7 separate regions of the Homo sapiens genome follow, and all the other regions are linked to region 1. Evidence: promoter capture Hi-C in 16 types of primary human blood cells and fetal thymus (Javierre and others, 2016). All regions are on one chromosome and are shown on one strand. The core of a region is centred on a gene start or on the middle of the fragment in contact, and the rest is flanking DNA. Distances in the headings are between cores, read along the strand shown.

Region 1 (4,148 bases), core at 453-2,952:
TTTTAAAAAAAATAAGAAAAGCTACCAGCTTACCCTTTACTTTTAGAGACCAAACCAAGAGACTGACTGAGTCGATGAATAAAGGCTCTTTCAGTACTGGTCAAAGAAGAAGGAAATTCCATTTCTACACGGAAAAAAAACAAAGTAGTAAAATTTGTAGATAGGCAATTTTCTCTCAAGTAAAACACACAGATACAAAATATGAAAAACATACATAGACAATCAAATTTATTATACTTTATTTGAGGTTAACTTTATATTTCATATTCTATTTATGTAAATTAATAAAATTAAGATATTTTATTAATTCAATAACTACTGAATGTCTATCAGAATTCTGATATTAATAAAAAGACAGCTATGTATTAAACCTAAATGTGATAAAGGCCTCTGATATTCACCAAAAACGACTCCTCTTACTTGTTCTGGAATTTTGAGTTGGTATAATGACTGAACATATTTAACTTGGTCCCTACTTGTTTAGTTAACAAAATGTTTATTTTCTTCAATGATGAGATATGTTCAAATATTATGAATTCTCAACATGAAACTCCATTGTCTTTGCTTTCAAAACTGTACAGAATTCGTATTTCACTATTTCAGAGGGATTTGTTATATATTGCTGAGGCTTTCTCTTTTTTTAATGTGAATTTAGAATCTCTCTGTCTAGAACATTCCCCGTTTTGGACTATAAGATTCCAGAGTAAGAGGTCCCCTAACTAAGCCAGCAGGTCCGAATGAGCCCTCAACAGACTGCACAGGTCACCGCAGGTCAGTTGCTGGTTCTGCATTATATGACCCAAGACAAGTGGCTATCTAACCTCAAGAGGTGTGGAAGATGCTTCGTGTGCCAAACAAGTTTAATTTAAGTGGGTAGCGTGATGCTTCAGGGTCCAAACGTATTGCTGGTGCATTTATTTATATGTTTGATTTCTTTCTGCTCTTCTACATCTGTAGCTTAAACGTGCCACAATTAGGTGACACCCCCTTAAAAAGGGTTAGGGCTAACCAATATCTGAAACACGGTGGCTTAACCGCCCAAGGCTGCTGAAAGACGCGGGGGAAAAACACTTTCAGCTAGGGAGCAAAGTGCCCATAACCCCATTGATCCGCAGAGCACCTCGCATTCCACCGCAGGGCCAACAGCCGCGTTCCAGACCCGGGTGCCGCCGCTGAGGCCCGCCCCGGACGGTGGCCCGGGTCTTCCCTCCCTCTTCGGAGGCACCCCCATCACTCGGTGGGCCGCCGTTTGGGGGGCGCTGGGGTGAGGGGGGTATCCTGACTGCCAGCATGGTCCCTGTCCGGAACCTCACCTCTCTGGTCCCCGTATCGGAAGCGCTCCAGCGCGATATTGACTGCGATCTTCACCTCCTCATCAATGCGAATGTCCTTCAGCCCCTTGGCCCGGCCGCCGCCCCCAGGGCCACAAGGCGAGGGGCCGCCGCCTCCGCCACCGCCAGGAGCCGGCTGCCGCGGGGAGACGCTGCTCGGCCTGGACATTGCCCTGAAGAGATGGTCTCTCCGCACGGGAGCGGCCAGGCCTGCTAGCTGACAGCCAATGACAAAGACCGTGGGAATCCGGGGCCACTACCGGGAAGCTCCGGAGACGGCCTGTGTTGGGCTGAGGTCACCAGAAAGGCCTCAGTCACCGCCACAGCAGAAGTGAAGCCTGCGCCATTGATATCACGGCCAGGCGAGGAGCGCGGGCGTAATGACGTCACCAGGGCCGGCGCCCGTGACCTCAGCGCGGCCGCCGCTGCGCGCCTAAAGGAGGCTGTCTGCGGAGCTATGGTGCGGTTCTCTTCCCGCGCCGCCCACCAAGGGTCGCTCCTCATCTTCTTATTCACTCACTTGCTACTTCGTTTAGTCCTTCATTAATTCCTGCAGTAAGCATGTATGGGCTTCTACTGTGGACCTGGCATTATGCCACGCCTTCGATGTACATTGGAGAACCAGAGAGCCAAGGTTCCTACCTTCATGGAGTTTATATTTTAGTGGGAGGAGGGTTGCCAGATTTAGCAAATAAAAATACAGAATGCTTAATAATTTGCATTTCAGATAAACGAATAATTTTTAGTGTATATATTTCCCATGCAATATTTGGAAAAATATCATAAAAAATACATATACTAAAGAATGAGCCACTGTTGTGTGTCTTGCATTCTTCCCTTTTCTGAATGGGAGATTTTAATGCAAGTATGCCACCCTTGCTCTATCACGCTACACAGGGTAGCTGAGTGGGGGCAGGTATGTAGTACATATTTACATAGTTCATGAGTTACCTGGCAATGAGGATATACATCTGGATCTAATAAAGAGGACTGTGTATCAACAACAGATCCTGGATGCAGTGACTAGATAGAATTCCAGGTGTCTGGGGAGGGTATATGTGTATTCTGTGTGTGGTAAGAAGGGGGCGGAATATTTGGTGACAAGAAGTATCTTTTCTTCCTAGGCATTATATTTCCCAACTCTCCTGCAGTTAGCTGGGGGCCACATGGCTGAGTTCCGGCCATTGGAATGTTGCTGGAACTGATGTATACCACTTCCAGGATTGGTCTATAACACCTTCCTTGAATCTTCCCTTCTCTGTCTTTCCTGGTCTTCTGGAAGTTCTTAGACAACGGTGGAACCACTAGATAGATAACAGGTTCCCGATTCCCTGAACGAGTGTGATAGAGTGTCCTCACCAACCCACATTGGAATATGACATGGGTAAGAAATAATTCTTAGTTGTGGTAAACTGCTGAGATTTGGGAAGATTTTTTTTTGTAACATTATGGTAAATTGTTGAATTCATCAAAGGTATGGCCTTTGATGAATCACACATTCCTCTGTTCACACCCTTGTATTCTTCCTTCCCACATGGACTCTGTCTTTGGCTATGTAACTTGCTTTGGCCATTGGGACATCAGCAAATACGAGATAAGCAGGGGCTTGAAAGGTGTTTGTGCATTAAGGCTTAGCCTGTTTTGCTGCTGAGAATTCTTCTTCCACAAAGTAAAGAAGCTTAGGCTAGCCCACTGACAACTATGGCCCAATCATCCACCAGCACCAAGGGCAAGACGTGAAAAAGGCCATAATGGAAAGTCTAGTCTTAGAAAAGCTGCTGGATGACCACAACTCTGTAAGCAACCCAAAGCAAGATTAGCAAAACCACCTAGCTAAACATAGTCCAAACTGTTGACCCACAGAACACATAAACAAATAAAATGAATATTGCTGTAAGCCACTAAGTTTTAGGTTGGGTTTCTTACACAGCAGTAGATAACTGATACAAAGAGTTAGCTTATTCTGACTAATATATTTGTACAATGATAAGGCTGATCTTGGGCATAAGTGACTAGGCTGAAAGAACTAGCTTCACCCGTTCCAGTTTGTACCCAGTTGCCTAAGAACTGGGGTCATCAACATCTTGATATGCCTGTAAACAACTTGTGGCATACGAGCATGCCACAGCACAGTGGTCTGGAGACTGCTCTCTTCTCATCTATAAAATTGACCTGGTAGAGTAATAAAGTCTTAAAATATAACCAACATGATTTTATTATTGATGCTAGGGATATTTCCTCCCACCCTTTGCCCCCTCATCACCCCTACTTTGCCAGCCCTCCATCCCTTTCTCTCTTGTTCAGCCAGGTCATTTAGGGGTTATTATTTGGGGAAATATTGTCTTAAGTTGGTTTCGGTTCTCTGGAACTGGAAAAAGTCACATAGTAATACACCAGTAAGTTGCCAAAAAGGATCCTGAGCCCTGCTTCTCTTGGGGAGAACAAAACAAAAACCCTGAATGGTGTGGGAGATCCTGGAACAGAATGGCCTGTGCTACTTTCCCAAGGGAAGGCCAGAGAGGCAGCTCAGGAAAGAAGGTAGTGTGGTGTGCCTAGGCAGGTGAGGCGCAGTGTGGTATAGAGCAGCAAAGGGTTCCTGGTGCCCAAGAGGTGTCCAGAATTGGCAGAGATATGCCAGACCTGAAGGAATCGCACAGTTGAGAATAAGCAATGAATGACTTAACGGTGACTTATGTTGTTTGACCACCAAGGATCAGAAACTCTTTCCCACACTTACTGATGCCTTGATACTCCGTAAGTCCCCCAGAACTTAAAAGCAAGCCTAGGCAAGAGTGGCAGCCCCTGAATTAACTGAGG
Region 2 (3,318 bases), core at 775-3,274, 670 kb after region 1:
GTTTTTCTTCTTGATCAGGTGTAAGATGAAATGGTGATCCCAGAGAGATTCCTGATTTCAGGGAAAGGATGGAATCTGAATCAGACGAAGCTTGTCTAGATAAACATGCAGCAGCAGCAGCTTGATGTAAACTACTTACTATGGAATTTGCACCTTCCTGAATAGCTTTCCAATCAAAATTTTCTGAATCAGGGGATAGACCATGTTCTGAATCTGGTCTCTGTATATCTTTCAAATCAAGTGTCAGATCTTCACCTAATATGCCACCCATATTTCTGGGACTATGTTTTTCATTATCACCCTTGAGTCTTGAAGGCTTTTTCTTTTTTGGCATTGCGGAGCTTATACATTCCTGCAACAGGTCATCTTCAGAGTCAATACTAAGAGAACTGAGAGAACTGTTTCTTGAGAAACAAACTGGGGTATCTTCAACATGAAATGATTTAGGAGCATAGCCTGATGCTTGAGGTTTACTTGGTTCTCCCTGTGAGTCAGGGGGCTCAGTCTCTTTGATAGGTTCATTTTCTTTATTGTTGTTTTCTTGGTCAATGTCACTGAGAGAACTCAGAGAGGAATTATGAGAAAAGCAAACCGGAGTATTTTCAATAGCAAAATTCTGTAACTTTTCATCAGTTGCTGCCCCTCTGTCTGGTATGTCTTTGGATGACTGGGGAAAAGTGGATTGTTTCTGAAGTATGGGTTTAGGCTGACCTCGATTTATTGGCTGCTTTGCAATAGCTTGTGTCTTATTAGCTGATTGTTGGTTGGAGGTTAGTTCTGTGTGGCTGGTAACTTTAGCCTCTGATTCCTTATTTTCTTTTGCCTTTCTTAATTCAGCCTTTTCCCTGGAAAGGTCAACATCATCATCATCAAAATCTAGAGAACTCAAAGAATCATTTCGTGAAAAACAGTAAGGAGTTCCTTCAATAGGCGTGTAATGATGAGGTGAATCAAAAGCAAAACTTCCTCTGACTCTATCTTCATTATTTGGGAGCTTATCATTGAAGACCTTGGAATTATTTTTCAAATTCTGTTTCTTTGAATCTTTGTTGTCTGAGAAAACTCTCTCAGCATTTAAATTATTTTTTGAGTCTGCATTTTTTCTTACACGTGTCCTATATTCAGTATTTTGTGGTATAGGTTTTACTGGTGAAGTTGGTTTCTTTTTCTTACCATCTAACTGATTTTTGTTGGGTGCAGAAGAAGACGCAGATGCTTGCTGGACCTGGTCCATTATCTTTTTCACACGGAAAGGCTTGTGACTTTTCCCTTTGGGCATAGCAGAATTAATGCATTCTGCAAGAATATCACCTTCCTCTGCTTTATTGTCATCCAATTCAGGTATGGTTACAGATGAGGTTTTTCCTCCTTGAGCCTCATCTGTACTTCTGCCTTCTGTAGGAATGGTATCTCGTTTTTCAAATTCACCTGACTGTGCCCCTCCTCTAACTCCTTCTCCAGCAGCTAACTCATTTGGAGGGGATTCGATTGTTAGATCACTTAGAGATGTAGCTGTGGAAAAGTTTATAGGTGTCCCTTCAACACAATACACCCGTGGCATATCATCCCCCGGTGTAAAACTAACATGCTTTTGGGGTTGCAACCTGTTTTGTGATGGTAGAAGTTTGTACACAGGCAGCTGACTTGGTTTCCTTGCCACAGGTGGAGGTAATTTTGAAGCAGTCTGGGCTGGCTTTTTTGCTTTACGTGATGACTTTGTTGGCATGGCAGAAATAATACATTCTTCTAGTATTTCAATATCATCATCATCTGAATCATCTAATAGGTCCTTTTCAGAATCAATAGTTTTTTCTGCCTCTTTCTCTTGGTTTTCATTTGATTCTTTAGGCTGCTCTGATTCTGTTTCATTCCCATTGTCATTTTCCTGAACTGGAGGCATTATTCTTAATTCCACATCTTTCTGTATAAATGGCTCATCGAGGCTCAGAGCACTCAGGCTGGATGAACAAGAAAATCCATCTGGAGTACTTTCCGTGGCAAAATGTAATAAAGTATCAGCATCTGGAAGAACCTGGACCCTCTGAACTGCAGCATTTACTGCAGCTTGCTTAGGTCCACTCTCTCTCTTTTCAGCAGTAGGTGCTTTATTTTTAGGTACTTCTCGCTTGGTTTGAGCTGTTTGAGGAGGTGGTGGAGGTGTTTTACTTCTGCTTGGTGGCATGGTTTGTCCAGGGCTATCTGGAAGATCACTGGGGCTTATAATGCCACTTACCATTCCACTGCATGGTTCACTCTGAACGGAGCTGGCAATCGAACGACTCTCAAAACTATCAAGTGAACTGACAGAAGTACATCTGCTAAACATGAGTGGGGTCTCCTGAACATAGTGTTCAGGTGGACTTTTGGGTGTCTGAGCACCACTTTTGGAGGGAGATTTCGCTCCTGAAGAAAATTCAACAGCTTTGTGCCTGGCTGATTCTGAAGATAAACTAGAACCCTGCAGTCTGCTGGATTTGGTTCTAGGGTGCTGTGACACTGCTGGAACTTCGCTCACAGGATCTTCAGCTGACCTAGTTCCAATCTTTTCTTTTATTTCTGCTATTTGCAGGGTATTAGCAGAATCTGCTTCCTGTGTCGTCTGATTACATCCTATTTCATCTTCAGCTGATGACAAAGATGATAATGAACTACATCTTGAAAAACATATTGGAGTATCTTCTACACAATAAGTCTGTATTGTTTCTTGGTTAATAGAAGAAACTTTGCAAGTGGCAGCCTTTTGAGGCTGACCACTTCTACTCTGTGCAGAACTTGGATGGAGCTGATTCTGCCTCTTGGCATTAGATGAAGGTGTGGACGTATTCTCACTGCTTGAAGACATATGTTCGGTTTTACTGCTTTGTCCAGATGAACTCTTTGAGAATGAAAATGACTGTTTCTGTGATGAAGGAATATCTGTGGCATATTTTAAACTATAATCAATAGGCTGATCCACATGACGTTTCTCTTCATTATATTTTATGCTATAATTTGTTGGTCTCTCTTCTTCTTCATGCTGTTCTTCTTCAGAGTAACGTTCACTATAATTGGTAGGCTTATCATCTTCATAGTCATCTTCTTGACACAAAGACTGGCTTACATTTTGATTAATTCCATGATTAGAACCCACTCGATTTGTTTCTGAACCATTGGCTCCCCGTGACCTGTATGGAGAAACACATTCCTGCTGTCCAAAATGTGGTTGGAACTTGAGGTGTTTATCATCAGTGCTCTCAGTATAAACAGGATAAGTTGTACTTTGATTCCTTGATTGTCTTTGCTCACTTTGTTTTATTTCATCTTCTATTATGTGTTTGG
Region 3 (4,148 bases), core at 812-3,311, 650 kb after region 1:
GGTGGCTGCTGCAGGATTCAGAAAAACGAGCTGCCAGGGAGAGGCGCGGGGCCCGTACAGAGCGAGTTGGATCAGCTAGGCCATTCTGGAGGCCGCGGAGCGGAGAAGCGCGGTGTAGCACCTGCAGCACCACAGCAAGCCCCTTCCTTTCGGAGGACCCACCGCCTCAGAACCCACCTGTCCTGGTCGGCCGGGGACCGCGCGGCAGCGCAAGCCATCTTCACAAGAGTCTCAACAACCCAGGAGCCGCAGGGAGAAACCCGGCAGAAACCCGGGAGGAACCCGGCTCTGAGTTTCCGAGACAGCCCGCTTTTCCGCCGGAAGTCCTGCCCAAGAAATGGTTCCGCGTCCGCGATTTCTCATCGCCTGTTTGTTCCGGCACCTGTCGCTCGGCGCCAGGATCTCTAGTCTCTGACGTGGCATGAAGACTTCCCTTCTCGCGAGAGAATCATGAAAGCTTCTCATTCCTTTCCCAAGCCGGGAAGACCATGTGGGGCGCATGCACCGCCACTAAAAAGGGTTTAACTTCGACCCTCCCTCGTTTCCAGTTTCTCAGCGAGTATGGGTGGTACTAGCTACTCTCTGTTAAGGGGCGAAGACTGTGCCACGAGGGGAATCTGTGTGGTTCAGGATGCAAATATATGTTAGACAGGGAAGGAAATACTCCTTACGTTTAATTTTTCTCCGTTCCTGGGCTCTAGAGCTTGCTTTCAGTTTGGCAAAATGGATTTTTGTAGTGGTAGAACTAGCAAAGTTATAGACGTTGTGTTTCAGTGTGCTCTGCGTTAGAAACTTAGCTATTCACCTTTTAGGCCGGGTGCGGTGGCTCACGCCTGTATCCCAGCACTTTGGGAGACTGAGGCAGGTGGATCATGAGGTCAGGAGTTGGAGAGCAGCCTGGCCAACATGCTGAAACCCCGTCTGTACTAAAAATACAAAAATTAGCCGAGTGTGGTGGCACACGCCTGTAATCCCAGCTACTCGGAGGCTGAGACAGGAGAATCACTTGAACCCAGGAGGTGGAGGTTGCAGTGAGCTGAGATCACACCACTGCACTCCAGCCTGCGTAACAGAGCAAGACTCCGTCTAGGAAAAACGAAACAAAACTATTCACCTTTTAAAACTTCTGAAGGATACCATGTGCCATCACTACAGGCATACTTCATTATTGCACTTCACTTGCTGCTGCGAGTAGATACTGCCTTTTTACAAATGGAAGGTTTTTGGCAAATCCGCCTGAAAGAAGTTGCTTGGTGCCATTTTTCCAGCAGCGTATACTTTGTGTCACATTTGGTAATTTTTGCAATATTTCAAACCTTTTCATTATTTCTGTTATGGTGATCGGTGATCAGTGATGTTTGCTGTTACTATTGTAATAGTTTTAAGGCCGGGTGCGGTGGCTCACGCCTGTAATCCCAGCACTTTGGGAGGCCGAGGCAGGTGGATCACGAGGTCAGGAGATAGACACCATCTTGGCCAACATGGTGAAACCCCATCTCTACTAAAATATAAAAAATAAGCCAGGCATGGTGGCACAGGCCTTTAGTCCCAGCTACTCGGGAGGCAGGGGAATCTCTTGAACCCAGGAGGTGGAGGTTGCAGTGAGCCAAGATCACACCACTGCACTCCAGCCTGGCGACAGTGCAAGACTCCGTCTCAAATAATAATAATGTTTTGGGGCACCATGAACCATGCCCAGATAAGATGGGGAACTTAATGGATAAATGTTGTGTATGTTTTAACTGTTCGACCAACTGGCCATTTCCCATCTCTCTCCCTCTTCTGGAGTCCCTATTCCCTGAAACACAACAATGTTGAAATTAGGCCAGTTAGTAACCCTACAATGGCCTCTAAGTATTCAAGTGAAAGGAAGAGTCACACGTCTCACATGTCAAAAGATGGAAATGATTAAGCTTAGTGAGGAAGGCATATGTAAGCCAAGATAGGCTGAAAGCTAGGCCTCTTGGCACCTAACAGCCAAGTTGTAAATACAAAGACAAAATTCTTGAAGGAATTAAAAGGAAATTACTTCAATAAACACACAAATGATCAGAAAGCAAAACAACCTTATTGCTGATATGGAGAAAGTTTTAGGGGTTTGGATAGAAGCTCAAACCAGTCACAACATTCCTTTAACCCAAAGCCTAATCCGAGCAAGGCCCTAACTCCCTTCAATTCTGTGAAGGCTGAGAAAGGTGAGGAAGCTTCAGAAGTGGGAAGCTAGTAGAGGGTGGTTCAGGAGGTTTAAGAAAGAATCCATCTCCATAACATATAACATAAAAGTGCAAGGTGAAGCAGCAAGTGCTGATAGAGAAGCTGCAGCAAGTTATCCAGAAAATGTAGCTAATATCATTGACGATGATCAATGATTAGCTAGTATCATTTAGTGGCTACACTAAACAACAGATTTTTCAATGTAGACAAAACAGTCTTCTATTGGAAAAAGATACCATCTAGGATGTAGCACCCAAAATCCTTGTCCCTTTGAGAGAAGTCAATGTCTGGCTTCAGAGCTGCCCCATTTAGTGGCTACACTAAACAACAGGTTTTTCAATGTAGACAAAACAGCCTTCTATTGGAAAAAGATGCCATCTAGGATGTAGCACCCAAAATCCTTGTCTCTTTGAGAGAAGAAGTCAATGCCTGGCTTCAAAGCTGCCAAGGACAGGCTGATTATCTTGTTAGGGAACAATGCAGTTGGTGATTTTAAGTTAAAGCCAATGGACATTTACCATGCAGAAAATCCTAGAGACCCTAGAATGATGCTAAATCAACTCTGCCTGTGTTCTCTAAATGGAACAACAAAGCCTGGATGACAGTACATCTGTTTACAGCATGGTTTACTGAACTATTTTTTTGAGACAGTCTCGCTCTGTCACCCAGGCTGGCATGCAGTGGCCCTATCACATCTCACTGCAGCCTTGACCTCCCACACTCAAGCAATCCTCCTACACAAGCCTCCTGAGTAGCTGGGACTATGGGCTCATGCCACCATGCCTGGCTGATTTTTATTTTTATTTTTAGTGGAGACAAGGTCTTGCTATGTTGCCCGGGCTGGTCTTGAACTCATGGGGTCAAGCAATCCTCTTGCCTCAGCCTCCCAAAGTACTGGGATTACAGGCGTGAGCCACTGCACCCAGCCTTTACTGAATATTTTTAAGCCCACTGTTGAAAACAACTACTCAGAGAAAAAAAAAAGAGATTCCTTTCAAAATATTACTGCTCATTGACAATGCACCTAGACCTCTAGACATCTAAGTTTCTGATGGAGATCTAGAAGGAGATTAATGTTTTCATGCCTGATAACACATCATCCATTCTGCAGTTTACAGATCAAATAGTAATTTTTATTTTCATCTCTTATTAAGAAATACATTTTGTAAAACTATAGCTGCCAAATAGTGATTCCTCTGATGGATCTGGGCAAGATAAATTGAAAACCTTCTAAAAAAGATTCACTATTCTAGATGGCATTAAGAGCATTTGTGATTCATTGGAGGTTAAAATATGCTGATGCATGAACAGGAATTTGGAAGAAGTTGATTTCAACACTCTGGGATCATTTTGAGGACTTTAAGACATTAGTGGAGGCAATAACTGCAGATGTGGTGGAAATAGCAAGAAAACTAGAATTAGAAGTAGAAACTGAAGATGGGATTGAATTGTTACAATTATGATAAAACTTGAATGATGAGGAGTTGCTTCTTATGAATGGGCAAAGAAAGTGGTTTCTTGAGATGAAAACCACTGGTGAATATGCTGTGATCATTGTTGAAATGACATCAAAGGGTTTAGAATAGCATAAACTTAGTTGATACAGCAGTGGCAGGGTGTGAGAGGACTGACTCCAGTTTTTAAAGAAGTTCTACTATAGGTAAAATACTACCAAACAGCATTACACGCTACAGAGAAATCTATCGTGAAAGGAAGAGTCAGTTGATGTGGCAAAATTCGCTGTTGTCTCATTTTAAGAAATTACCACAACCACTCCAACCTTCAGCAACCATCATCCTGATCAGTCAGCAGACATCAACACTGAGGCAAGACCTTCCACCAGCAAAAAGATTATGATTTTCTGAAGGCCCAGATGGTTGTTAGCATTTTTAGCAATAAAGTATTTTAAATAAGGTATGTACATTATTTTTCTG
Region 4 (4,148 bases), core at 785-3,284, 630 kb after region 1:
TCTAAATAAATAAATAATAGGAGTAGTGTTAGAAAGGAACATTAAGTTAGGAGCTAAAATCTTCAAGAACTAAGGCAAAGTAGCCCAAGAGTCAGGGATGACAGGGAAAGGGAAGGCTACTCAGTGATAGAATCTGATGACATGAGATTCTGAAAGTGGCAATGAAGAACAAAAACAACACCTACCAGATCCATTTGTACTAGGGTCATGAGAGGAAAGAAACAGCCACCACTTGAGAAAGCAGTGTCCTCAGGGCACAGCCAGCTTTCTCTAAGAGCAAGAAGGTAAAGGAAACATTCGGAGGAATGGATGAGGATATAGATTTTGCCAGTGATGGGTCTTGAGTTCCAGAGGGACTCAGATTTTAGAAATTGGAGAAAGGTTTTTGTGTTTTAGAGCTCTGTGGTAGTTAGACATGGGAGTTGTGAGGTTGCCTGACCATGGGGAAGTAAAATCCCAAGACAGTTCTCCAGCAGCACTGATGCCCCAGAAGTGGTATGTTCCCCATTTCTCCCTCACAGACCTCTCTTCTCTGGACTCCTATTTTTGGGCATACAAATCCAGTCTACTTGAATATGTTTTAGGTATTTTTTAACTTGTAGCCTTAACCTCCTCCCACTTTAGGATTGCCAGCTTTTTTTTTTTTTTTTTTTTTTTGAAACAGAGTCTCACTCTGTTGCCCAGGCTGGAGTGCAGTAGCATGATCTCAGCTCACTGCAGCCTCCACCTTCCAGGTTCAAGGGATTCTGCTGCCTCAGCCTCCCAAGTAGCTGTGATTACAGGTGTGGGCCACCACGCCCAGCTGATACTTGTATTTTTAGTAGAGACACCGTTATGCCATGTTGGCCAGGCTGGTTTCAAACTCCTGGCCTCAAGTGATCCACCCACCTCGGCCTCTCAAAATGCTGGGATTACAGGCATGAGCCACCATGCCCAGCCAGGATTACCAGCTTATTTTTAAGAGCTTTCTTTTCTTCTCCCTTCCCTTAGCCTAATCAGCAACCTGTGGTGATGTCATTTCTGTCTACTTCACCCACATTTCTTAGCCTCTTGGTTCTCTTAGATATCAATACTTAAAATCCAATCTTACTTTGTTATGACACATTCCTAAATAGGGGCAAGAGAATTAAAATAAGTTAGGAGGAATTTACATGCTGCCACATTTTAGACTTTTCTCAAAGCTTTTGGATTAACTAGGAATTTCTACAAAGGGTTAGTTAAGGGAAGGACTACATTTTCTCCTTTGCTGTGAACTTGGTTCAGTAATTTTAACTGAGCAAAGGGAGAGCAACTATCAGGCAGCTGGTGGACAAGAAGGGACTCCTTGGCTCTCATCACTAAGGCTCTGGCTCCATCAAGAACAGCTGCAGATTGTAAAATCTCACAGTGGGCCCTGGAGGCTTCTAGACAACCCCTTTCCCCTCCATCTTACACACTGTACTGGTTCTCATAGCACATTCCCTGCCACTTGGTAATTAGAAAGTGGAAGGCTTGGTCTCCTGCAGAAGTAAGAAAATATATTTTTCTTTTTTTTCTATAGAGATGGGCTCTCACTGTGTTTTGGCCAGGGTGATCTCAAACTCCTGGCTTCAAGGAATACTCCTACCTCAGCCTCTCAAAGCTCTGGGATTATAGACATGAGCCACCACACCTGGACAGAATGTTTTCTTGATGAATGTAGTGTCTTGTCACCAACTCAAAGACTTAGAGCAAACTCTTCTCATCATAGGAGAGAATGGTGGCACAATAAGAGTATAAATACAGATTTTAAAAACAATTTAGTATAACAACAATTTATATAGCATTCATGTTGCATTAGGTACTTTAACTAGAGATGGGCTTTTAAAATTTTTTTAAAATAGAGGTGGGGGGTGGGGGTCTCACCATTCATATTGGCCAGGCTGGTCTCAAATTCCTGGCTTCAAGCGATCTTCCCACCTCAGCCTCCCAAAGTGCTGCGATTACAGGCATGAGTCATTATGCCTGGCCGAATTTAAAGTATATGGAAGAGGCCGGGCATGGTGGCTTACGTCTGTAATCCCAGCACTTTGGGAGGCCAAGGCGGGCAGATCACGAGGTCAGGAAATTGAGACCATCCTGGCTAACACAGTGAAACCCCATCTCTACTAAAAATACAAAAAAAAATTAGCTGGGCGTGGTGGTGAGTGCATGTAGTCCCAGCTACTCGGGAGGCTGAGGCAGGAGAATGGCATGAACCCGGGAGGCAGAGCCTGTAGTGAGCCGAGATCGCGCCACTGCACTCCAGGCTGGGTGACAGAGCGAGACTCCGTCTCAAAAAATAAATAAGTAAATAAATAAAGTATATGAAAGCACATAGGTTATATGGAAATACTATGTATGCCATTCTATTTAAGGGCTTGAGCACTCACAGATTTTGGTATCTGTAGGGTTCCTGGAACTAATCTCCTCTCCCCCACCGCCCCCCCAGCCCCCCCCCCCAAACACATATATCAAGGGATGACTGTATTTCTAGTGCTGGGAATGAGGACTTCTCTGATTTGTCGCCATGGGATAAATATGATGACCTAGTTGTCATCAGATTGATAATATATTGATAAGTGAAATCTTACAGGCAAGCACACAGATACAAATAGAATTTGAACACTACTCTTAAGGAATCTCTGCTTCTTTCAATGCTTAAAGGAGAATAGAGGGCAGACAGTTTCGGTGACACTGTCACAACAAGGGGCTAGGCTAGATGACCTTCAAGTATTTTGCTCAAGTATTTAGGATTTGTGCTCTAAGAGGTACCTTCTCCATTTCCTGGAAACCCTCTTAGCCCAGACCACAAACCCCAACATGATCGCACCTGAACATGAGTCATCCAAGTTTTGTTATCTAGTAGCTACATTAGGCACAAAGCTTGCAAGCTTGCATTCCAAAGAAAGAGCTTTGATATATTTTTCTTTCCCTCCTAACAAACAAACAGCGAAGAAAGCTACCGTGAATTTACTGGGTGAAGAAAAGAAGAGCACCTAAACCAGACTGGATGGAAACTTCCTGCCCTCTCTGTACCTTCCTACTGGAGCTTGATGTTATATTAGGGACTGTGGTATAATTATTTTAATAATGTTGCCTTGGAAACATTTTTGAGATATTAAAGATTGGAATGTGTTGTAAGTTTCTTTGCTTACTTTTACTGTCTATATATATAGGGAGCACTTTAAACTTAATGCAGTGGGCAGTGTCCACGTTTTTGGAAAATGTATTTTGCCTCTGGGTAGGAAAAGATGTATGTTGCTATCCTGCAGGAAATATAAACTTAAAATAAAATTATATACCCCACAGGCTGTGTACTTTACTGGGCTCTCCCTGCACGCATTTTCTCTGTAGTTACATTTAGGATAATCTTTATGGTTCTACTTCCTGTAATGTACAATTTTATATAATTCTGAAATGTTTTTAATGTATTTGTGCACATGTACATATGGAAATGTTACTGTCTGACTACAACATGCATCATGCTCATGGGGAGGGAGCAGGGGAAGGTTGTATGTGTCATTTATAACTTCTGTACAGTAAGACCACCTGCCAAAAGCTGGAGGAACCATTGTGCTGGTGTGGTCTACTAAATAATACTTTAGGAAATACGTGATTAATATGCAAGTGAACAAAGTGAGAAATGAAATCGAATGGAGATTGGCCTGGTTGTTTCCGTAGTATATGGCATATGAATACCAGGATAGCTTTATAAAGCAGTTAGTTAGTTAGTTACTCACTCTAGTGATAAATCGGGAAATTTACACACACACACACACACACACACACACACACACACACACAGAGTAACCTGTAACTCTCAATTCCCTGAAAAACTAGTAATACTGTCTTATCTGCTATAAACTTTACATATTTGTCTATTGTCAAGATGCTACAATGGAAACCATTTCTGGTTTTATCTTCAAAGCGGAGAAACATGTTGATTTAGTCTTCTTTCCCAATCTTCTTTTTTAAACCAGTTTAAGGAACTTCTGAAGATTTGTCCACCTCTGATTACATGTATGTTCTTGTTTGTATCATTAGCAACAACATGCTAATGACGACACCTAGCTCTAAGAGCAATTCTGGGAGAATGAAAGGAAGTATAAAGTAACCCATAATCTGCTTGGCAATAGTTAAGTCAATCT
Region 5 (4,148 bases), core at 675-3,174, 620 kb after region 1:
AAGCAGCTGATAAGATTGGAGGAAAATAAAAGGAGCCAATGGCTTGGCATCAAAGCTTAGTTGAGAAGATAATATATGATGTATTTAGGTAGAAATTGGATCATGCATATTCTGAGCTTTGCTCTGACATCTGGCCTTGAGCAAGAGGGTTTAAAAATAAATTTAAAAGCTTTTTTTCTTGATTATGAAATTTACATATGCTCATTCCTTTATTCAGCAGATTTATTTAGAACCTCCATGTGCCAGATTCTGTTCTACATCTGGGAGATACTTTGGCGAATAAAACAAAGTCCTTGTTGTCCTACTGTTTACATTTGTGTGTGTGTGTGTGTGTGTGTGTGTGTGTGTGTGTGTGTGTGATGGGATGTGTTTTATGTAGGGAGGAAAATAACATTTGTAATCCTACATCTTAGAGTAGTCTTCCTATTTTTTAAAATGTGCAAATATATTGGTCTGTGTATATAAATAAAAACAGAACTCTGTGTGTATGTGTATATATATATGTATGTATTGCTGTCTTAACATATGTGTGGCTTAGATCACATATGATATATAATTCTGTGTCTTGCTTTTTTCAATTAACACAGTATTCTGAGTATTTTCTCATGTTATTCAGTATTTTTTGACATAGCTATCTAATGTTATTGATAATTTACCTACTTCCCAATTGAAAGACATTGAGGACATTTGTCATGCGATTATACATAATGCTGCAATTAATATCTTTGTATCCTCTGTTTACCTTCATTTAAATCATTTTCTAGATTTACTTTACTTTTTTTGAGACGGAGTCTTGCTCTGTCGCCCAGGCTGGAGTGCAGTGGCGTGACCTCTGCTCACTGTAACCTCTTTCCCAGGTTCAAGTGATTCTCCTGTCTCAGCCTCCCGAGTAGCTGGGACTACAGGTGCACAACCACGCCCGGCTAATTTTTGTATTTTTAGTAGAGACGGGGTTTCACCATGTTGGCCAGGCTGGTCTCAACTCCTGACCTTGTGATCCACCCACCTCAGCCTCCCGAAGTGCTGCAATTACAGGCGTGAGCCACCAGGCCTGGCTAGATTTATTTTTAGAACAAGGTTGAGTAAACTCTGGCAAGATTAGGTCCTGACCTGAATTGTCACCTGTGCTATTTCACCCATTGACAGAGAATATAACATTTTTCTTTTCTTTTTTCTTTTTTTTGAGATGGAGTTTCGCTATTTCACTCAGGCTGGAGTGGAGTGAAGTGGCGTGATCTCTGCTCACTGCAACCTGTACTTCCCGCATTCAAGCAATTCTCCTGCCTCAGCCTCCCAAGTAGCTGGGATTACAGGTGCCCACCACCACGCTAGGCAAATTTTGTATTTTTAGTAGAGATGGGGTTTCACCATGTTGGCCAGGCTGGTCTCAAACTCCTGACCTCAGGTGATCCTCTTGGACACCTCAGCCTCCCAGAGTGCTAGGATTACAGGCGTAAGCCACTGTGCCTCGCAACATTTTTCTTCTTAATGTTCGTAGGAGGCTAAAAAGACAGGGAAATCTTTCCTTTAACACGTTCTTTTAAGCTTTTATTTGTGCATGCTGAGCAATGTAGCCTGTAACTATTCTGTGGCTACACTGCAAAAGCTTTCTTCTGACATTAACTCTCAGTTCCGTAACTGCATGTTAAGCATACCCCTACCTGGGAAATATCTCTTCTGGGGGAAAATCACATGGTGACAGCATTAGAAGCACAGACGGAATAGAATGGCCTGTTGTAATTCGTAATTTAAGGAGTCATTGTGTCAGTGCTAATAGTGCCAAGAGTCCAGTTAAAATAGCATGGACTCTGTCTGAACTGCAGGCAGCAGTGGGCTTGTGAGTCTCCTTGGGAGTATCATCAGCTGGCACTTTGAGGGCAGCTTGATTGAAAAGAGCCAGATCTGTGTGGGTGACTTTAATAAACTCAGGCTATTCCTGGGCTGTAGAATAGTTACACAGATTAAGAAGAGAGGGTTGTAAGAGGTGGCAGCTGAATATCACCTTGGGAGTTGAACAGTAATTAACTTTATTTTTAACATAAGAAAATGATTTCATTTCAGAACAGGAAAATGCTAAGGATGTAGCTAGAGAGCAGTAATTATTTTACTGTCTCAAGACAATAGCTAGAGGGTACCAGAAAGTAGTCAATTAACAGTCTGCAGTCTAGCCTACAAAGTAATCACATTGAAGAGGTACAAAACTGTGGACACTTAATTCATCCAGAAAAGATAATAAGCTTGTCTGGATTGCTGAAGGGTTGGCATCTACATAGGCAGGTAATATTTCAGAGATTTTCCACAATAAGAACTTTAGGATTTGGTAATACTACTATTCTATTGTACACTTTCTTCAAGTACATTAATTTGTGACTTTCCTAAAACTCTGCAGAAGAGAAAACTGTCTCTTAGGTTGATTTGCCTAAAGTCATAAAACACACCCCACCTCTCCTGATTTTTTTTTTTTTTTTTTTTTGAGACAGAGTCTCGCTCTGTCGCCAGGCTGGAGTGCAGTGGCGCAATCTCAGCTCACTGTAACCTCCGCCTCCTGGGTTCCAGTGATTCTCCTGCCTCAGCCTCCTGAGTGGCTGGGACTACGGGTGCCCACCACAATGCCCGGCTATTTTTTTTCTAATTTTAGTAGAGACAGGGTTTCACCATGTTGGCCAGGATGGTCTCGAACTCCTGACCTCGTGATCCACCTGCCTCGGCCTCCTAAAGTGCTGGGATTACAGGCGTAAGCCACTGCGCCCAGCCCCACCTCTCCTGATTCTTAATCCAATGAGTCATTTTCACTTCACCTTAATGCTCTGGTTTTAATATGGACATCTGTCTCTCTCTTGATAATCCATTTCTGAAAATCAGATATTCTATGTAGGAATACATTCTATGCAGAAGCTTATTTTCCACTATTTTAAGTGGGAAAAATTTTAATGTATTACATGTCAATGTAAAACTCAACGAATTCACTAAGTATTAATAAAATACAGCAAAATACCTATATATAACAAATATCATGTTAGGATGTTAGATGCTAAAAACACTTGCTGCTCTCCAAATAGTTAATATAGTAAGTAACAATTGCTCTGTGTGCAGGAATACATAGCACATCCCCTGTGATGCTCTGCATATTCTTCAAAATGTCCACCAAGGATTCTGATATTCTGTCAAAAATGTTACTCAAGACATTTCCTGCATATCATAATGTTGTATTGCATTTTGGGGATGTATAGCTTTTCCTATATAAGCAACTACAGTAAAACATTGTATGAATTTTGGATATTAAAAACCAAAAGGCAGCAGGGTGCAGTGGCTCACGCCTATAATCCTAAGCACATTAGGAGGCCAAGGTGGGCAGATCACGAGGTCAGATCAAGACCATCCTGGCCAACATGGTGAAACCCTGTCTCTACTAAAATACAAAAAATTAGCTGGGCACGGTGGCATGCGCCTGTAGTACCAGCTACTCGAGAGGTTGAGGCAGGGGAATCACTTGAATCTGGGAGGCGGAGGTTGCAGTGAGCTGATCACGCCACTGCACTCCCGCCTGGCAACAGAGCAAGACTCCGTCTCAAAAAAAAAAAAAAAACAAAAAAAACCAAAAAAACAAAACCAACCAAAAGGCTTCCACAGGGAAATAACTAGAGAGGTGGTCTTGCAGGGTCTGCTGTAATTAACTGGCACTATGCCAAGGAAACAAAGCTAATGCCAGTGAAAAATACAGTCATTTAATTCTCCATTTTGGGTCAATGCAAATGCGTATCTCAAAAAAACCAAGGTTCTGAACCTCTGGCAACATCTTATAATTCAGTAAGATCTGCTGCTGGCTAAACTTAGGGCATGCTAGAGCAGAGTTGCTGGGAAAACTAAGAGTAACATCGAACTACTTGCACATACTGAGGGTACCTCAAGGCGCTGGCTTCCTTGGAGTGCTTGGACCTTTAACAGAAGGTCTTAGTCTACCATTGTGTGTGTGCAGAAGGCTGATTTGAGTTTTTGCATGATTGCACATTCATGCACGTAGCATTACTATCCATGTGTAGCGAGACTACTAGATGCTAGTCTGAGTCTTTACCTTTCCATCATCTACTGTCATGCTTTCCCAAGTCTGAAGATCCTGTTTTCCAAGATCTGTGCTCAGTAAACAAGCT
Region 6 (4,148 bases), core at 416-2,915, 570 kb after region 1:
TTTCTTTTTTTTTTTTTTTTTTGAGACAAACTCTCACTTTGCCCCCTAGGCTGGAGTGCAGTGGCTTGATCACAGCTCACTGCAACCTCTGCATCCTGGGCTCAAACAATCCTCCCACTTCAGCCTCTAAAGTAGCTGGGATTACAGGCACCCGCCACCACGTCTGGCTAATTTTTGTACTTTTTGTAGAGATGGGGTTTTGTCATGTTGCCCAGGCTGGTCTCCAACTCCTGAACTCTAGTAATCCGATCACCTCAGGCTTCCAAAGTGCTAGGATTACAGGTACGAGTCACCACGCCTGACTTAAATTATTCTATCATTAAAAAGTTTTCATTTTTACCCCAAATGAAGCTTTTCATCTTAAATTTTATTCGTGACTCATGCCTGTAATCCCAGCGCTTTGGGAGGCTGAATTGGGGGGATCACTTGAGGTCATGAGTTTGAGACCAGCCTGGCCAACATGGCAAAAACCCATCTCTACTAAAAATACAAAAATTAGCCAGGTGTGATGGCGGGTGCCTGTAATCCCAACTACTTTGGAGGCTGAGGCATGAGAATCGCTTTAGCCTGGGAGGCAGACGTTGCAGTGAGCCGAGATCGTGCCACTGCACTCCAGCCTGGGTGACAGAGCGAGACTCTGTCTCAAAAAAAAATAATAATAATAATAATTCTATTCATTTGCTGTTAATTCCATTATGTTATTAGCATTTCTGCGTACTCTTTTTTTTATTAGTATTTGATTGTTATATTTTTCTTTACTTTTATCTTGAAATTTCTGGATGGTTTTAAGTGGGCTCCTTGAACTATTTACACTATTGTTTGCTTGCTTGTTAATCAAATGAGATGATTTTTATCTATTAGTAAATGAATTCTATCTAATAAACTTATATAGTCAGTCATCCTGGTATATTTAAATTTATTTTTACCATCTAATTTAGGTCTTTGCTTTACTACCCTTTTTCTTTTTTTCTTTTTCTCTTTTTATTCCTGTTGCTTCTTTGGGACTGATGAAATTTTCTATATTCTTCTTTCCTTCTTTGTTGGTTTTAAGGCTATGCATAGCATTTCTATTTTTTTTAACATGAATATCTCTACATTTTTCCTATAAAGTCTCCAATTACATACACAGTGTTTTTTCCTTCTCCTGAACAAGACACAAACCTAAACAAGCTTTAATTACCTAGTAAGTACTTCCACATTATTGTTTTTATTTTTAATTTATTTTTTTGAGGTGGAGTTTCACTCTTGTCGCCCAGGCTGGAGTGCAATGGCGCAATCTCAGCTCACTGCAACCTCCACCTCCCGGTTCAAGCAATTCTCCTGCCTCAGCCTCCTGAGTATCTGGAATTACAGGCATATGCCATCACGCCCAGCTAATTTATATATTTTTAGTAGAGACGGGGTTTTGCCATGTCTGCCAGACTAGTCTCGAACTCCTGGCCTCAGATGATCTGCCCGCCTTGGCCTCCCTAAGTGCTGCGATTACAGGCGTGAGCCACTGCACCTGGCCCCCATATTATTTTTAACCCTCAAATTATTTTTTATATTGATAGTTAATTGTACTTACCAACTTATCAATTTCTATGCTTTTCATGTTTGCTTACATCTAATTTTTTCTTCCTGGGTTTACTGTTCTTCTAACTGAAGTATGTCTTTTTAGTAGATCTTTCACTGTAGGTCTGTGGTTAGTAAGTTCTCTTATTTGTATATATTTGTTTTATATATTGTACACCTAAAGATGCACTTTCATTAAGCATTTATTCTGTCTTTTCTATACAAAGTAAGCAAGTAGAAGTAGAGAAGTTTTCAATTTCTGATGAATTAATGGATCAGTGGTTGCCAACATCACACAGAGAGAGACAATCAGTTATTACATATTTTCTACAAGTCACCTACAAAGGAGTCTAGCCTGAAAATTGTACCTGAATCTGATCAAGGCCATAATCTCACTACCAATTTATAGAAAATACAGAAAACAGACAAGTGTAAATTACATGGGAATGCAATCAGCAAAATACAGATGTGGGAAACTCTACAAGTCAGATAAAACAACCCAGTTTCTTTCAGAAGTAAGTTGAAAAAGGTGGGGCAAAGGGGATTGAAGGGGTAGGTAAAAGAGACTTAAAAGATGTATATAGTTAGAAGGAAAATTAAGCTTCAGAGTTTAGAGGTGCATCATGGGCGACAGAACTATAAAGAAAGCAAGAAAGCAATGAACATAAAACTCAAGATGTAGTTACTTTCAGGGGAAAAGGAAAGGATTGGGATTGGGACAGGGTAAATGAAGGACCTCTCCTGTGGCTGCAGAGTGGACCCCATTGGGATACAGCAGAGAATGAGACCAAGGCCCAGCTCTCAGGGTGTTTACACAATAGGAGAAATAAACCAATAAATGAATAATGCAATGTCAATTAGTGATAATGGAATATAAAACATAGTTGACCCCTAGCCTCCAAATAAGTGCCAGCCGAGTTTCATTCTTAACACAGAGTACATAGAAAATATAATTACTTGATAAGGTCAATAAGAAATCAGCTTTCACAATATATTATGGCCAATTAAGAGGAAAAAGTAAAGAGAAAAGAAAAGAAATGAAGAGAGAAAAAGAAATAGGGGCATAAAAAGCAAGTCCAAACATAGAAGAGAAAGACACCCACAAAGGCATAAAAACACCCACATCCATAGGGCCAGAACTTTATGGGTAAAATATTTTATTATAGCTACAAATTCATCACTCTATATAGATATAGGGGCAGGTTGTCTTGGAGCTCTCATCTTCAGTTATTTAGTCAAGGTCTAGAGACTGTGCCAGACTTGATCATTCCAGCCCCAACACTTCCCTAGGTTTGTTCCCTATTTAGGTGGTGGCACATTATAAGTACATTTCAGACTTTTTCTGAAAGCAGATATTATAAAGAAAATGAGTGTGGGAGTAGAAGAGTATTCATCCTCAGAGGAAAAAGGACACTGAAGGGGCTGTAGAGGTGCCCAAGTAAATGCTCCAGTTTAGCCACAACTCAATCTACACACCATGAAGGCCCTTTTTCTTGCAGCCCTGCAGACTAACAAAATGGATGGTAGAGAATGCTGACTGTGCATAGAAGGCTTTCTCCCCGTGTTCACCTTGGAAGGGTCATTTATAGCTCAGTTCCTTGGATTCAAAAAGGAAATCAATCTTACCACCTATGGCAATAACAAAAATGGCAACAAAATGATTGCGGTTTTTAATTCCTTCCTGTTGTGGTAGCTTTCATTTGTCCTGTTATTGCTGGATTTATTAGAAATAACTATCCAAGTCAATAAACCAGAAAAATGCAAGCTCCATCTCATCTAGACATCCTAAATGTAGTCACAATTCACTTTAAATATGTATAGTTTATGTAGTTCACATTTTCATTTACAACAATATAGAATATTAAAATTAACTTGCAGACTATGAGATGGCAGGAGGTCATAAGGGTAATAACCATTTATCAGTGAGATCTCAACCAAATTCTGGCTTACAGGTTTTCCAGTAGAGTTGTGGTTATTTTTTCCCTTTGTAATGAAAACAGATTTGATTATGGTTGTAAAAGTAGTATTAAAAAGTAATATATATTCATTATTTTCAAAAGTTAAACAACAGGAATATATTAATATATATCAAAAACATAAAAGTTGGCCAGGTGTGGTGGTTCATGCCTGTAATCCCAGCACTTTGGGAGGCCGAGGCAGGAAGATCATTTGAGCTCAGGAGTTCAAGACCAGCCTGGGCAACATGGTGAAACCCCATCTCTACAAAAAATACAAAAATTAGCAAGGCGTGGTATTATGTACCTGTAGTCCCAGCTACTAGGGAGGCTGAAGTAGGAGAATCACCTGAGCCTGGGAGGTTGAGGCTGCAGTAAGCCACAATCATGTCACTGCACTCCAGCCTGGGCAATAGAGTGAGACCCTGACCACCCCCCCGCAAAAAAAATCAGTATTCTCTCCACTAAGGAATCTATTTGCCCAGACTTTTTTTGTCTGCAGGTGCACACACGCATGCACACACACATACACGCCCCTCCCTCTACCCCCACTTAAGTGTGTTTTTTTGTTTGTTTGTTTTTTGAGTCAGAGTCTTGCTCTGTCACCCAGGCTGGAGTGCAGTGGCATGATCTCAGCTC
Region 7 (4,148 bases), core at 1,205-3,704, 550 kb after region 1:
TTGGCCAGGCTGGTCTCGAACTCCTGACCTCAGGTGATCCACCCGCCTTGGCCTCCCAAAGTGCTGGGATTACATACGTGAGCCACCACGCCTGGCCAAGGTTTCATCTTCAAAAAAAATTAAAATAAAAAAAAACTTCATTGAGATATAATTTAAATACAATAAAATGCTGTTAGCTGATGGAGTGGCACACTCCTGTCCCAGCTACTCAGGGGAATCACTTGAGCCCAGGAGTCCAAGGCTTCAGTGAGCTATGGTCCAGCCTGTGAATAGCCACTGCATTCCAGCCTGGCAACACAGCAGACTCATATATTTAAAAAATATATGCCGTTCACTTTTTGTAAAATTAAACTTTCTATTTTGAGAAAATTGTAGAAGAGAGATCTTCCTACAACTGGATATGAATTTTCTCAAAATAGAAACTTGGTATATACTTTACCCAGTTTTCCGCAATGGTAACATCTTGCAAAACAGTATCACAACCAAGATATTGAAATCAATGCAGTCAAGACACAGAACATTTAATTACCACAGGTTCCTTCATGTTGCCCTTTTATAACCATTTTCTGTCTGGGTGTTCAATATTTACAGTATATTCCAAATGAAAACTTTTCTATGACTTTTACATGCCTTCCTCTTAGCTTTACATAGGAACTATGAGCAACTGCTTAAAATTACTGAAACCTATTTTTTCAGAGCTCTCATACATACTGCCTGAATCTATTTTCTGATATGATCCTAAAATTATATTGACTAAATCTTAGGAGCCATAGATAGACTACCAAAATATCAGCTGAAATAAGGGCTTGAGAGCAGCAAAGAGGGTAGTGAAAAGGCATCCTGGTCCTCCAAGATCAAAGCAGCACAGTGGGTTCCAGGCCAGTCAGTATTACAGAGCCCTTGACTGGCAAGTCAACAATATGACAGACACCATCACTGGGAGCTGCCCTCTCCAATGTCCAATCTCCTCCCTCCTCTCAGTTAAAGGCCTCATTTAAAAGCCTACATGTCCTTGTCTGTCTCACGGCCATATGCTGCTAGATGTGAAACTGCATTTGGCCAAGGAGATACAAGCATAACGGTGGTCTAGAACCCTTGGGAAGTTGTTAAAAGAAAGCAGAAGCCTCTTTTCCACCCCTTCCTCTTTGTCCCTTCCTGTCGCCAGCAATCGGTAACCTGAGCAGAGTAGCAAAATAGAACTCTCTGGTCCCTGATGACCTTGGAGCCACTAAACCAGCTCTGGAGTGCCTATTTCTAGAATTCTTTTACTGAGCGAGAGAGAGAAATAAATGTCTACTTTGTTTAAGCGATGATACTGGTTTTTTTCTGTTATATGTAGACAGTAGTCCAAACTGACATAAGTAATCCTCTCCTCATGTAGAGGCAAAGGTAGTTCTCAGTTAAGGCTTGAGAGTGCACTTTTCTTTGGATAAAAACATTTTAATAGGCCCTTTTAGCATACAAAATTAAAGCTCCAAAACTATTACAGACAGAAGAGTTTGAGACAATTGAAGGTAAACAGCTCTGAAGAATGATGCGAAGCTTTATCTTCCTCTGAGCAGAGTTGAGGCACTGCAGAAAGAGGATTATGATGTTGGAAGAAGAGAGAAGAAGCAGGCAGGAAGGATTTCCTCTTTCTAGGAAAAAAAAAAAAAAAAGGCTATAGTTGAGGGCCTGCAGCCTGGGTAGGGCTCCAGGTCAGAGAATCCCCATCTGTCATCTATGATTTCAAAGATGCTCCTAGCACCAGAGGCCTAAGGAGGGTGACAGCTGGAAGAGCAGGCCCCTGCACAGATGGATCTAGGAGCCAGAATATCAACATGCTTTCATTTTAAGGGGGATTCTTTTTCCTTTTCTGAAAAGTAATTTTCTTTGCTAAAGTCCAAGTGCAGTGAGCATCTGCCTCTTTAAAAAACAAAAAACAAAAACCAAACAAACAAAAAAACTTCTCAGCATTCATTTTCTCTCTGGAAGCATAAAGCTGTTTTTCCTTCAGGAGCAACTCCTCCCCCATTCTCATTCATGTACTCTGAGTGGGTTTGATTCCTCATTTCTAACCCCTCCACCCTCACTCCAACCTCCAAGAGCACTTGTCACCATGATTATTTAAGAAATAAGCCAGGAGGCCAGGCATGATGACTCACGCCTGTAATCCTAGCACTTTAGGAGGCCAAGGCAGGTGAATCACCGAAGGTCAGGAGTTCAAGACCAGCCTGGCCAACATGGCGAAACCCCGTCTCTAACAAAAATTAGCTGGGCATGGTGGCACGTGTCTGTAATCCCAGCTACTCGGGAGGCTGAGGCTGGAGAATCACTTGAACCAGGGAGTTGGAGGTTGCGGTAAGCCGAGATCCTGCCACTGCACTCCAGCTTGGTGGCAGGGTGAGACTCTGTCTCAAGCAAACAAACAACAAAAAATTATAGTTCGAGACCAGCCTGGCCAACGTGGCAAAACCCCGTCTCTATTAAAAAAACAAACAAACATTAGCTGGGCGTGGTGGCACACACCTGTAATCCCAGCTACTCAGGAGGCTGAGGCTGGAGAATCACTTGAACCCAGGAGGCGGAGGTTGCAGTGAGCCGAGATCGTGCCATTGCACTCCAGCCTGGGCGACAGAGCAAGACTCCGTCTCAAAAAAAACAAAACAAAACAAAACAAAAAACAAATACTAAGTCTTATTCATTCTATAGAGATCACACTGCTGCACTCCAGCCTGGGTGACAGAGTGAGACTCCATTAAAAAAAAAAAAAAAAAAAGCTAGGAACCCAAGCCAAATTGCCAAAGACCCAACATGAGGATGTCTTCTTAACTGATTGGAAAAGAAATGCTTCTTCTTTCTGTTGGGCTTGCTAAAGTGCTAGGAACATAAGCCTGGGGATTCCAGTGCTTTCTCTGCTACCACTCAGGAAAGCCTGCATAAGAATGAAGCCAAAACAGAAGAAAGCAGGAGAAAGAGATGAAGAGAAGCCACTTTCTGTTTCTTTTCTATTTTCTTTTTCAAACTCCATTACTCTGAGTAATGGAGTAATTTCTTATCTTACTGTTTGAGCCCTAGAATCCAACCGAGCCTCAAACTACATATATTCCCTGGATCTTTCATTACCTTAGCCAATACATTCTCTTTTTTGTCATTGTTGTTGTTCTTTAAAACCAGTTTGAATAGAATTTTTGTCTCTTGCAACCAAGAGTCCTAACTAACACACTAAGTCTGCTCTCACTATGTTTTGGGGGAGTCAAGGGAGAGGTCTGTACCTACATTTGGAATACATGGTTATTAGGAAAGCAAAGAAGCATTAAAAAAAAGTGATGAGAGCAAAAGATGATTGGCAGGACGGTAACCTTGGAAATAGAGACAGAAGCTTAGACCCTGCTAATTTGGCACAAACAAGAATGGCCACCAACACTTAGAGAAGTTGAGAACACTCTGATTTACAATAATAAAATTGATATATCATGAGCAAAATATGCTATCTGCAGAAAACTGTCTCATGGGTCCAAGGGGGAAGAGTTGAATTAGACAGTTCGCTAACATTATTTGCATCTTTAAAAAAACAATGAGTCACCAGGGTACACAGGGAAAGCCTGAAAGAGATCTGAGCTGCAGGGTTTGGCACTGCGCCTCAAGTCCCACAGACTAAAGAAACACTGAGTAACCAACTTAACCATCTGCTTGGCAGTACTTCCATATAATGGCTCTAATAGGACCTTTAACCTTGAAAATCACTCAGCTTAGGCTTCATTTCAATTCAACACTTTTCAAGCAACCCTGAGATTACATTTTTATATCCCATGTAACTTTCTGTCAGCACGACTAAGCACCCTGCAAAAGAGATGGAAACAGTCCAGATCAAAAATATTTGAGAGACTGGAAAGTCAAACTGCACCCTGGAAGCCAAGTACAAACAGCACATGTAGATGGTCTTAAGCAGAATCAGAATTTTGGGAAGGGATGCGGAATTGGAATGGAAGTGTGGGGTAAGGAGACCACACTGTCCAAGTCAGAGACAGAGTAATAAAAGATCAGGTTGGAAATGAACAAGATTTTGGCAACTGTTCTGATTAAACTGGGAGGGTCTGCATCTGGCCTTTGCTGGCTAGTGGCCTCTGAGGGATGGATTTGGTTTAAGGACAGAGAGCCAGGTGGCC

Evidence for each region. The method cuts DNA at HindIII sites, captures the fragments that hold promoters and counts their contacts. A CHiCAGO score of 5 or more calls a contact.
Region 2: a contact is called between a fragment that was not itself captured here and the fragment with the promoter of YTHDC2 in region 1, in 4 of 17 cell types (total CD4 T cells, naive CD8 T cells, naive CD4 T cells and 1 more). The highest score is 7.6, in total CD4 T cells.
Region 3: a fragment that was not itself captured here is called in contact with the fragment with the promoter of YTHDC2 in region 1 in 9 of 17 cell types (total CD4 T cells, total CD8 T cells, fetal thymus and 6 more); the score reaches 9.6 in total CD4 T cells.
Region 4: a contact is called between a fragment that was not itself captured here and the fragment with the promoter of YTHDC2 in region 1, in 6 of 17 cell types (naive CD4 T cells, activated CD4 T cells, total CD4 T cells and 3 more). The highest score is 9.8, in naive CD4 T cells.
Region 5: a contact is called between a fragment that was not itself captured here and the fragment with the promoter of YTHDC2 in region 1, in 6 of 17 cell types (naive CD8 T cells, total CD8 T cells, naive CD4 T cells and 3 more). The highest score is 7.7, in naive CD8 T cells.
Region 6: a contact is called between a fragment that was not itself captured here and the fragment with the promoter of YTHDC2 in region 1, in 6 of 17 cell types (naive CD4 T cells, naive CD8 T cells, total CD4 T cells and 3 more). The highest score is 11.2, in naive CD4 T cells.
Region 7: a contact is called between a fragment that was not itself captured here and the fragment with the promoter of YTHDC2 in region 1, in 10 of 17 cell types (naive CD8 T cells, activated CD4 T cells, naive CD4 T cells and 7 more). The highest score is 11.1, in naive CD8 T cells.

What each region holds. Positions count from the first base shown.
Region 1 is chr5:113,511,248-113,515,395 of GRCh38, reverse strand. It overlaps YTHDC2 (YTH N6-methyladenosine RNA binding protein C2), which reads right to left and starts at 1,702. Exons shown (of 30, transcript NM_022828.5): 1 at 1,314-1,702; 2 at 34-124. The coding sequence starts at 1,500. It overlaps LOC124901046 (a long non-coding RNA gene), which reads left to right and starts at 1,738. Exons shown (of 2, transcript XR_007058905.1): 1 at 1,738-1,965; 2 at 2,456-3,537. RefSeq lists a silencer at 1,217-1,446 and enhancers at 1,399-1,900, 1,897-1,946. The HindIII fragment of the contact is 3,291 bases long and covers 1-3,011 here.
Region 2 is chr5:112,838,749-112,842,066 of GRCh38, reverse strand. APC (APC regulator of Wnt signaling pathway) reads right to left here. Exons shown (of 16, transcript NM_000038.6): 16 at 1-3,318. Among named protein-coding and RNA genes, the nearest start is that of SRP19, 21 kb to the left of the region's middle. The HindIII fragment of the contact is 3,863 bases long and covers 93-3,318 here.
Region 3 is chr5:112,857,447-112,861,594 of GRCh38, reverse strand. SRP19 (signal recognition particle 19) reads right to left here and starts at 308. Exons shown (of 5, transcript NM_003135.3): 1 at 178-308. The coding sequence starts at 218. RefSeq lists enhancers at 11-310, 411-490, 249-543. The HindIII fragment of the contact is 291 bases long and covers 1,916-2,206 here.
Region 4 is chr5:112,877,638-112,881,785 of GRCh38, reverse strand. It overlaps REEP5 (receptor accessory protein 5), which reads left to right. Exons shown (of 5, transcript NM_005669.5): 5 at 2,951-4,148. The coding sequence ends at 3,000. It also overlaps a transcript of SRP19 not described here. Among named protein-coding and RNA genes, the nearest start is that of SRP19, 18 kb to the right of the region's middle. The HindIII fragment of the contact is 1,702 bases long and covers 1,184-2,885 here.
Region 5 is chr5:112,893,563-112,897,710 of GRCh38, reverse strand. The region is part of intron 3 of REEP5 (receptor accessory protein 5); the gene reads left to right. It also overlaps a transcript of SRP19 not described here. Among named protein-coding and RNA genes, the nearest start is that of REEP5, 27 kb to the left of the region's middle. RefSeq lists a silencer at 843-892. The HindIII fragment of the contact is 631 bases long and covers 1,609-2,239 here.
Region 6 is chr5:112,939,817-112,943,964 of GRCh38, reverse strand. No RefSeq gene overlaps it. Among named protein-coding and RNA genes, the nearest start is that of REEP5, 20 kb to the right of the region's middle. The HindIII fragment of the contact is 985 bases long and covers 1,173-2,157 here.
Region 7 is chr5:112,958,090-112,962,237 of GRCh38, reverse strand. No RefSeq gene overlaps it. Among named protein-coding and RNA genes, the nearest start is that of DCP2, 17 kb to the left of the region's middle. RefSeq lists an enhancer at 1,952-2,246. The HindIII fragment of the contact is 1,819 bases long and covers 1,545-3,363 here.